2 separate regions of the Homo sapiens genome follow, and region 1 is linked to region 2. The links are contacts of gene promoters, found by promoter capture Hi-C in human tissues and cell types (Jung and others, 2019). All regions are on one chromosome and are shown on one strand. Each heading gives the region's core, a stretch centred on a gene start or on the middle of the fragment in contact. The rest is flanking DNA. Distances are from core to core; before and after follow the strand shown. Region 1 overlaps ITGA8 (integrin subunit alpha 8). Region 2 holds the start of ITGA8 (integrin subunit alpha 8).

What was found. Contacts are between HindIII fragments. The study calls those that stand out against the background at their distance.
Region 1: a contact is called between a fragment that was not itself captured here and the fragment with the promoter of ITGA8 in region 2, in 1 of the 25 tissues and cell types used here (aorta).

What each region holds. Positions count from the first base shown.
Region 1 is chr10:15,677,194-15,682,351 of GRCh38, reverse strand. It overlaps ITGA8 (integrin subunit alpha 8), which reads left to right. Exons shown (of 30, transcript NM_003638.3): 5 at 3,569-3,630; 6 at 4,715-4,760. Among named protein-coding and RNA genes, the nearest start is that of ITGA8, 40 kb to the left of the region's middle. RefSeq lists an enhancer at 2,148-2,442. The HindIII fragment of the contact is 5,232 bases long and covers 360-5,158 here.
Region 2 is chr10:15,718,379-15,723,963 of GRCh38, reverse strand. ITGA8 (integrin subunit alpha 8) reads left to right here and starts at 4,042. Exons shown (of 30, transcript NM_003638.3): 1 at 4,042-4,401; 2 at 5,065-5,198. The coding sequence starts at 4,193. The HindIII fragment of the contact is 28,165 bases long and covers 1-5,585 here.

The DNA of each region.
Region 1 (5,158 bases), core at 1,726-4,225, 41 kb after region 2:
TAAAAAGAAAAACCACACATTGAGCAGTAAACTAACTCTTCTATGTTTAGGAAATTCAGCAAAGAACAAGAGGGAAAAAGCCCCCTGTTCAAGGAACTGCCTCTAGACAGTAAACATGTAAATAAATGTGTTTATGATGCAATGTCAGGCAGTGAAAAGTGCTACAAAAAAATACAGCAAGACGAGAAAGAAGGGAGAGACCTGTGCTGGGGAAGCCAGGGGAGGAGCAGCATTTTAGACAAGACGATAGAAAGGGATTCTTCTAGCAAATGATTATTGGAGGAGAGAAGAGAGAAACTTCCCGGACTCAGGCAACAACCAACATGAGGCATAGTTTGTGTCATGTTCCATTCAAAGTGCTGTGCTCTTGGGTTTATTAAGAGGTCAGTATTGTTATGCTAAAGATAAAATCCCACAAACAATAACAAAGGATATCCAAAATATATCAGAAAATGAATGGTAGTGGAGAGATTCATTATTGAACTTTTCATCAATATTTACACCTGTCCATATCCTATACTCCATGATTTGCCCATGTTCCTGTTCTGTGATATTGACCATATGCTCATGGACAAGCTGGCTTGTTCAACAAACAGCAAATAACTGTAACTAAAGACAAGACCATCCTTCATATGCCTTTTGCCTTGATAATGTAGGTTATTCTTCCAACTGCCTTGAAGGATGATATTTATAAAACTAGTCACTCCTTGTTCTGCCTTTTTGCCAGACTACCTGTGTGGGATGTGAGGGCTCAGATCAAAATACAGCACATGAAATGCAGACTTGTAGGGGAAAAGTTTCAGAGTGAGTTTGAACCATTTTTTTAAAAAGTACACTAATGTACATTTGCATCTTAAGCTACATGGACACAGTAGCCTAACAGCTCAACAAAGACAGAATGGAGCACATGTTGAGTTGCAGAATAGCTCAATAAATTGCCATGAATTATTTCCTTTGTGGTGTATAGCCACAGTTTTCACATCCTCCTGGTCTCCCTATTCCTACGGGTACTTCTTCCTCCTCAGATCATCCAAGAAGCAGACTTCCCGTCATGGCCAAGAAGTTCACAGATCATTAACACAAAGCCAGCTTGTTCATGAGCATATGGTCAGTATCCCAGAACAGGAAACATCAGCAATATTATTTTCAAAAGAGAATTTAAAGAAGCTCCTCATGTTAATCTTATACCGCAAACCCGCTCTGCTGATATTGTTAGACATTACCTGCTCATTCATATTGATGACCTGCCTATGGCTCTCATGGTCATTCATAATTCAGGTGGAGATGGTTCATACACACACCCTTCCATTTGTTGGGTAAGACGTCAACAAATAGTAGCAAATTATCCACATGCTTCCTTGGATTCCTGAGTTCACTCTAGGACATAATTATCAAGTTCACAAATGCTCTGAAGTCCCAGGAAGAAAGAGTCCTTCAGCTCTCATAAATTATGATTCAACAAGGAAAAAAAAAAAGACTTTGCAATGGAAAGAACCTCACACTCTATTATAATTGCCACTTACAATAAACATTTGGAGCTGATTATTTTCTCAGTGTATTTTGTAAAAAAAAAAAAAATGAATGTTTTCTCTTAATTTTTTTCAGCCTGCTGTTTTAAAGCAATACTTTCAAAGAATGGTCATGTTTCTTCCCTTTCGAATAATTTACAATCATAAAAATAAAAAGTCAGGGTTGAATTTAAAAGGGATTTTTAAAAGGCTTGTGCATGGAAAAATAAATATAAAAACACATATGAACACATATATGTTCAGAGTAATATCTCATGCATTCATATATACTTCTGGATGCATATAAATATTTACACATATGAGCTTCTAGAAAATTGATACTTAGATATTCCAGATTATAGAGATGAGCTTTTAGGGAACTTTATAGGATTCATGACCATAAATCATGAAATATAGCGGTAAAATAAGGAACAAATTTTGTTAAAATACAGTGCATGAGGTTAAAAAGTGTTTTTAAAAATAAAGGACTCGGGAGGCTGAGGCAGGAGAATGGCGTGAACCCGGGAGGCGGAGCTTGTAGTGAGCTGAGATCGCGCCACTGCACTCCAGCCTGGGCAACAGAGGGAGACTCCATCTCAAAAAAAAAAAAAAAAAAAAAAAAAAAAAGGAGCATCTGGAAAAAATTGATGGTGACAGCGCTAAAACTAGCTAACTAATGACCAAAGGAAAGAAAAAACCGGAAGACATTCTAAGGGAAGCCGGAAAGGCCAGGTCCATTTCAAAAAGCTTCTGAACAGGCGCATGCCCAGTCATCAATATTTCCTGTGATGACATGTATTTCCTTTCCTGTTCTCTTATTTCAGTTTCCATTGAGGAATATCCTTGATAAGAAAGAAATAATTATTTACATGTCCAAATCTAACTATGCAGGATTGAGATTCCCTCTACTTAATTCACTACATTTTGGCTATTTTAGGCATGTTAGAAGTTGTAGAAACTCTTTTAAAGTACAAGTTACAAGTAGTAAATTCCTGGTCCTAATGCCCTACAGACTTTTGATAACAATAGCCTTGAAATCAACGTGTTGGCCTGCCTATAGCTTACAACTGTACCATGAGATCCTATTGGACAATGAGTTAGTGAATCATATTGGATAGAAAGCAAGATAAGCCACTACTAGAATTTTCTCTTTTGTGAACACTAGCATTGCAATGTCCAGTGAGACTGTGACCAGAAATGCAATTTCCCAATTTACCTAGCCTATTATAATAGGATAATTTGTTTTTATTATTATTTTGTTTGAGTTGGAGTCTTGCTCTGTCACCCAGGCTGGAGTGCAGTGGCATGATCTCGGCTCACTGCAACCTCCGCCTCCTGGGTTCAAGAGATTCTCCTGCCTCAGCCTCTCAAGTAGCTGGGCCTGCAGGCATGCACCACCATGCCCAGCTAATTTTTGTGGTTTTAGTGGAGATGGGGTTCACCATGTTGGCCAGGATGGTCTCAATCTCTTGACCTCATGATCTGCGCACCTTGGCCTCCCAAAGTGCTGGGATTACAGGCATGAGCCACCACAACTGGCCATAATAGGATAATTTAAAATTAAGTTCCTCTTAAAGAGCGTAACAGTGGAAATGCTTATTGGTGGCCCAGAAGATGACATCTACAAAGGTCATCTTGCACTGCCCCTTCTTCCTCAAGGTGTCAACTTTTGGGAATGACAGACCTATCTGCCTTCACACAGCACGAGGGGGCAAAAGAGAGACACGTTATTGCCTCATGGGAAATTTGGAATATAGTCAAAGATAGAGATTTTATTTCTTCAAATGAAAGTGAGTCATAAAACCCAATAGAGTAGCCAAAAGGGATGTTATTCCTGTTGATCTTACTAGAGAATCACAACGCTATTTGGTGTAAGAAAACAGACAGAAATATGTTTAATAAATTACTTGAACAACATTTTAAAAATAAACATAAAACACATATTGATCATTTTTAATTTAGAAGGTTCTAGAGAAAATAACATAATATCCTGAATTGGTTATTAAAAAATATTTCAGGAATGATAACGTTATAACATTTATGTATTTTGATCGTTCTAGGCAATGCTGATCCGGAAGGCCAGGGTTACTGCCAAGCAGGATTTAGTCTGGATTTTTATAAGGTGAATTATTTTGGTCTCGCAGTTCCTAATATTTAATCTGATTTTTTTTTACCCTCTGCCTCTCACTCCCACACCCCAAAACCACCACCACCACCAAAGAACCAAAGAATCTTGAGGAACATACCTAGCCTGTTTGGGCAAATGCTTTCTAAAAAAATTTTTCCATTCACTTTTTATTTTTATGTAAATAATTTATGCACATAGCGGCCTATTAAATAGTAGAGAAATAGACATGATAAAAAGCAACAGCCTTTCTTCTGATCCTTTGTGGCAATAATTTTTTAAATGAAAATCTAAAAAACTCAGTAATGTTTCTTAAAAAGATCACATGAATCTATTCATTGTTTTGTTAACTGTAATTGACCAGTTACATTTAATATTAATATTAAAATTCATATATCCTTTCAAAAAATTAAAAAGAGATGTTCAGTAAGAATGTAGAGGGAAAAGATTCTGTGGTTTTGAAAATAGTATAGAAAAATTTCATCAACGTATAAACTGTTTACTGTCTTTTATCATTCTTTTTATCATTACTTTTTTGTTTTTATATTTTCCACTGAGAGTTAAAGATATGAGGCACGAAAGGTGAGGATGTCAATTCATGAGAAAATGTTTATATTTGCTAGTCTGGAGTGTTTGCTCTTTCTCCTGAGAAGGGGGTGGCACTGGGGATGTATGGAAAAAAATAGGCATTACTATGTCCTTGAAATAAATTGGAACAGAATTTTATTTCTATCACGAAGGCTCAAAAGACCATGTCTGCAAAACTGCACAGCACTAAACATGTTGATATTTTGCTTATGAGGCAGTGCCAAAAAACAGAATTTATCTCTCTCAAGGGAGAGAGTTCAACTTACCTAATTGAGTCAAATTAAAATTATTTAATATGATAACACACTAAATAATTGAAAACAAAAGAGGAAAGAAAATGAACTGCAGGCCTCCGAAGGATCTCTTTTAAAAATTGCTTTTTATGTGTAACAAATTGTTAGAGCAATGCTTATTAACAACAATTTATCACCCTTTAAAAATGTTTAGTATTTCTTTTCCAATTATGGTTGCTGTTGCTGTTTCTGTTTTGTAGAATGGAGACCTTATTGTGGGAGGACCTGGGAGTTTCTACTGGCAAGGTATGTTCTGTTGGCAGACAAGAAAAGCACATTTGTTGTTACTAACAGAAGGATGGACCCAGAAGTAGTGTTAAATGTTTACTTTCTATTACCTTAATTTTATATCCTTATTCATAGTTTCTCAAATGAAGCGTTATTTCTTTTTTTTGCTTTTAATATTTTATTTTAATTGACAAAACAATTGTACATATTTATGGGGTACATGTGATATTTTCATACATGCTTATGATGTGTAATGATCAAATCAGGGTAATTAGCATAACCATCACCTCAAACATTGATCATTTGTGTTGGGAACATTTTAAATCTCTTCTAGCTATTTAAAAATATGAGATAAATTGTTGTTAACTATATTCACCTTATAGTGCTATAGAATGTTAGAACTTATTCCTCCTACC
Region 2 (5,585 bases), core at 2,793-5,292:
CATGGTTCCCGTATGTCAGAATGATGAAATGTACAAGACACCTATTCAGACTTATCCCTTCTCTACAATTATTGCAATTGGGTATTTTTTTTTTCCTGGCTTCTTGGAAGGTTTACTACTCTCCCAGGCTTTTGGCCTCCCAGGGAGGTCAAAGAGCTTGGAGTTAGTTTGCGTTCCCTCCAAAACACCAAGGTGCAGCCAAACCTTTTTCCACGACCTCTCGGAAAAGTACACAGCAGCTTTATGCCATCTCTCAAGGACTAATCATAGGCATGCCCAGAGGGCAGCCCAGAATAGCTTACTACCTCTAGAAAGGTGGCTTCTCATTATTATCATGGCTTTAAAACCTGATTCCTTATAGATCTAGTAGCATGAGGAACTGGTTTTGGCATTTGATAGGGTTAAAATAGTACGACTTACTTGCCCTGTAAACATGCATATTATTTTACCTCCCCAAACTTTAATGTCCTCATCTGTAAAGCAGAAAGTGACCATATTAAGAATATAGACTTATGTAAGTCAACAGCAAGTATGTTTTAGAACACAGAAATAAGAATATACCTAATTATGTGTCAGTAAACAGATTTTTTTTCCCTTATCTACTCTATTTTTGTTGTTGTTGTTTTGAGACAGAGTCTCACTCTGTCACCCAGGCTCGAGTGCACTGGCATGATCTCGGCTCGCTGCAACCTCCGTCTTCCAGATTCAAGCAATTCTCCTGTCTCAGCCTCCTGAGTAGCTGGAATTATAGGCATGTGCCACCACACCCAGATAATTTTTGTATTTTTAGTAGAGAGGGGATTTCACTATGTTGGCCAGGCCGGTCCCAAACTCCTGGCCTCAAGATGATCCACCAGCCTCTGCCTCCCAGAGTGCTGGGATTACAGGCATGAGCCACCATGCCCAGCCTCTCACTCTATTTTTGAACAAAAAGACTAAAAAGTTTAAGAAATATGCCAAGGAAGTAAGCAAGTGGGTACAACATGGGATACCCTGGTGATGTGCTTCTCTATGCAAATCAAAGCATTGTGTAATATATAGCTAGTTCCACCTAGTAAGTCAGCACACAGGTCAGGTGCATGTCTAGGATCATTCTATCACCTTCTGCCTATTTAGATGGTTCTCATCCATCTCAGGCTAGCTTGCAATAGGACAGATTTCCAAATTTCAGCATGCCAGTGTCAGGAAATGATTGAGTTGAGGTTATTTTTCTAACCTCAGTGTCCAACACAGTTGTCAGCATTCCTATTTGTATGCTGCCCATGAATTCCTCATTGAAAATTACTGAAGGGAACACCACTTTGATGAACAATAGTAACTTGATCAGAGTAGCAGACTCTGCGTTCAAAGCAAATGAACTTTTAAAATGAGAAGCAAGTCTTCTACCATCTACTCCTAAGTCTTTACCTGGGAAAGGAATACTCAGGAAATTATCCAGACGTGACAATTTGCCAGGGAAATTTTTGATAGCTTATTTATTTGTATTATTTTTACAGGGGCATGACAAGTAAAGATATAACATTCAGATCAGTCTACTGAGTGGGTTCTGATGTAAGGGAGACAAGAAGTCCAGCTTTTCAGTAAGTTCAGAGATTTTTTTCTCTGGATAGACCCTCAAATCAATGGACAGACTGACCACTCCCGAAACTGCCATCTACATTGCTAATCGCAGGCTAGTAACTCAAATCAGTGAGCCCAGCACCTAACTCACCTTCTACTTCCCCAATCTGCTGTCCTAGCCCACTGCTACCGTTCGCTATTCTTCTTTTCTAGGTTAATACCTTGAGACACCTTGAATTTTTTTTGAGATGGAGTCTCGCTCTGTTGCCCAGACTGGAGTGCAGTGGTGCAGTCTCGGCTGACTGCAATCTCGGCTGACTGCAAGCTCCGCTTCCTGGGTTCAAGGGATTCTCCTCCCTCAGCCTCCTGAGTACCTGAGTAGCTGGGATTACAGGCACATGCAACCACACCCAGCTTTTTTTTTTTTTTTTTTTTTTTTTTTTTAGTAGAGACGGAGTTTCACCATGTTGGTCAGGCTGGTCTCAACTCCTGACCCTGTGATTCTCCCGCCTCGGGCTCCCAAAGTGCTGGGATTACAGGCGTGAGCCACTGTGCCCAGCCTGTCCCTTTTCTTTAGCATTTGTGGCCCTCCCCTCCCTTCTGTTAACCAGCTTGAGGTCCTCGCCTCCCAGTGCATCTAGGCAACACCTACTTTGCTTTCCCTTCCTTCCAACAACTACCCCCCACTCCCCACCCCTAAACTTTTGGAGCCCCAGAAGGTATGTCCCGTCTCTGCTCTAGAACTGGCTCCCTTTGCCTCAATAAATGTTATTGTTATTAAGATCCTCTTCCTGAAGATCCAGTCAACCCTATTTCCCACCACTTCCTAACCCACCCCTTTTATTCCAATCCCATGCACAACCATTTAATCTCTGTCTTTTCTAAGTATTAATACCTTCCCTCAACTTCTCCCCCCACAGTGCCCAAATGTAAGCCCCGTATTCAAAATCCTACGTAAATGTACATCTGCCACCAAATCCTCTTACATGCTTCAGAAAAAACTTAGCTCTTCTGTCTCTAAACTTCATATCTGTTTAACCTCGGCTCCTTCCGGTTTCATGCTGACCTGTTTTGTTTAATGTTAACGAATGACCATATGTTATGTAAAGGGATCTATACTCCTTTCTCTTCTCTGTCCTCCCCTACTCAAGCCTCACGTCCTCTCCGACACAGGAGACATGGGAAGAGATTGACAACACCCACGGATCAGAACCGAAATCTGAACTCCTGTAGACTGTGAACTACACCTTCTACCCCCGCAGAAAGTAAACTGTAAATTCCAACATTCTTAACTGCGCCAAACTTCATCACAATTACACAGGATGGAGATTTACTACTAAGTCATTTAATATGCCCAAGATGCCTTTAAGAAAGATTTAAATAAAATCTCAAGGGCTGGGCAAGGCGGCTTACCCTGAAATCCCAGCACTGTGGGAGGCTTAGGTGGGAGGATCGCTTGAGTCCAGGAGTTCAAGACCATGTTGAACAACATGGTGAGACCCCCATCTCCTTAAAAAAAAAAAAAAAAAAAAAAAGAAGAAGAAGAAGAAGGAGAAAGAAAGAGAAACAAAGAAAGAAAAGAAATTTTAAAAGTCAACTCGAGGTGGCAGGACGGCTTGAGGCCAGGAGATCGAGACCAGCCTAGGCCACATGAGCAGACTCAGTGTCAACAAAAAAAAATTAGAAAATTAACCAGGTGTGATGTGTCATCTGCAGTACCAGCTAATCAGGAGGCTGAGGCAGGAGGATCGCTCGAGCCCAGGAGTTTGAGATTTCATTGATCTATGATAGCACCATTGCACTCCAGCTTGGGCGAGAGAGAGACCCTATCTCTAAAAAGAAAAAAAAAATAAATAAAACAAAGCAAACCAACCAAACAAACAAAAACAAAAAATTCACACATGCACACACACAGGCGCGCGCGCACACACACACACACACACAGACACCCAACAACAAAAACAAAAAAAAACCCTCGAGGCTTTCTTGTATATGAGTTAGCTCTGCCAGGAGGTGGGGTGGACTTAGGGGAGGAGAGGGTTGTTGCATTTCAACTTTAACTCTCATCACAGACGTGCAAAGCCGTGAACGCTGAGGTCAGGCTGCAGAGGTGATGAAGAGATAATTGCTTTGCCCCTCCTGGTGGTGGGGTTGGTTTTCACATTCTCCATCCAAGCTGCGCCTTTGACACAACTGGAGCAAGCTCTCGCTCCACCTGGGGCATTGCTTCTAAAGCAATAAATAGCTTGAGGTGACAGAGACGAAACTGATTGTCCTTGAGATGGGACTGCAATAGAAATCCGGGCAGCCCGAAGAGGCACCCAGCGCTCCAGCCACCAGCTGGGCCGCCCGGGAGTCCCTGGCTCTAGACCAGCCGCGAGGAGGCGCCGCGAGAGAGCTGGTCCCTGCCCGCGGCCGGAGGAGGGCTAGAGCCCCTGGGCCAGCCCCCCGAGCCGGCTGGGCGGGCGGGCGGGTGGGAGCAGACGCCGGGCACTGTCACCACGGGTGCGCCGAGCGCACCGACCCGGGACACGGGCAGCTGGGGACCGCCAGATTCCACCAGCCCCCCTTGCCCCGCAGGGGTCCTCGGCTCGCGCTCCTGGGTAGCAGCCACCCACCGGGGCGGAGGGAGATGTCGCCCGGGGCCAGCCGCGGTCCCCGGGGAAGCCAGGCGCCGCTGATCGCGCCCCTCTGCTGCGCCGCGGCCGCGCTGGGGATGTTGCTGTGGTCCCCCGCCTGTCAGGCGTTCAACCTGGACGTGGAAAAGCTCACAGTGTACAGCGGCCCCAAGGGCAGCTACTTCGGCTACGCCGTGGACTTCCACATACCCGACGCCCGCACGTAAGTCGCCCGACCCGGGGAGGTGCGCGCGGGGACGAAGGCGCTCCCGGGTCAGGTCCCAGCGGCTCTGCCGCGGAGTCCCCCCGCAGCCTGGGATCCCCGTCCTGCCGCCTGCCCGGGGTCCCGTCCCTCTCCCCGCCACCAGCCCCTTCTCTCCCCTGCCATGCTAGATGTGCCTTGTGAATTTTGAGCTAGAGACATGCCACTTGCATAGAACACGCAAGTCCTGGGTGTTCCAGGTACCAAGACGCACGCATCCTACAAAGGAGAGAACAGGACCCAGAAGACCCAAGCCAGTTAAAACCGCCACCACAGCGAGGTCTGTTTATGCAGAGTCTGTAACCATTGCGTCTGGGCGCAAGAGCTGTCGGCTACCAGCAGCTGGGCTCTGTCCTTGGCTTCCTCCTACCCCACCCCCTTCTCTCATCTCACTGTACCCACAGAGCTCCACCTAGAGAAGCAGGACCGTTTGCATTCTTGCAAACCAGGTTGCGGACCCCCGTTTCCAAGAGGAAATCAAGTTTGACAGTCGGTCCTCATCATAAATACGTTCATGCCCTCCACGCCTGCCCCAGTGTCCCCGGGCAGGAGGTTACAGAGACTGCATTGCATGCGCACGGTTTTGTGGCGCCCAAAGAGTGACTTTCTCCAACTCTTTTGCAGAGCGAGTGTCTTGGTGGGGGCGCCCAAAGCCAACACCAGCCAGCCCGATATCGTGGAAGGGGGAGCCGTCTATTACTGTCCTTGGCCCGCGGAGGGGTCTGCGCAGTGCAGGCAGATACCGTTTGACACCACCAGTAAGTGAGATTTGTCCTTCTAAGCTGTGGGCCTGGGTTTGGAAGAACCAGGGCCATCCCAGAGGCGACTTCCCGCTGTCTTGGTGTGCTGCTCGTTTAGCTTGTCTGATATGTCCGTATTGTGGGCTATGTGGGTCTCTAGAGAAATCAGTTTTTTCAACTCTCAGTTAACTGAAGGAAGACGTTTAGTGAACCCTAGAGAAAGGACACTATTTTGACCCTGAGTGTTCGGATGCATCCTGGCAACTCCTGTTTCTTTACCTTTCTGAGATGAGCATTTTCAGGGTGAGTGGATGTTTTGGAGAAATACAAAAACTATGTCCTAACTTTGACTGTGGAGAGAATTTGGTTGCTTCTCAAGGACAGATCTGGAAAAAGAGAGATCCT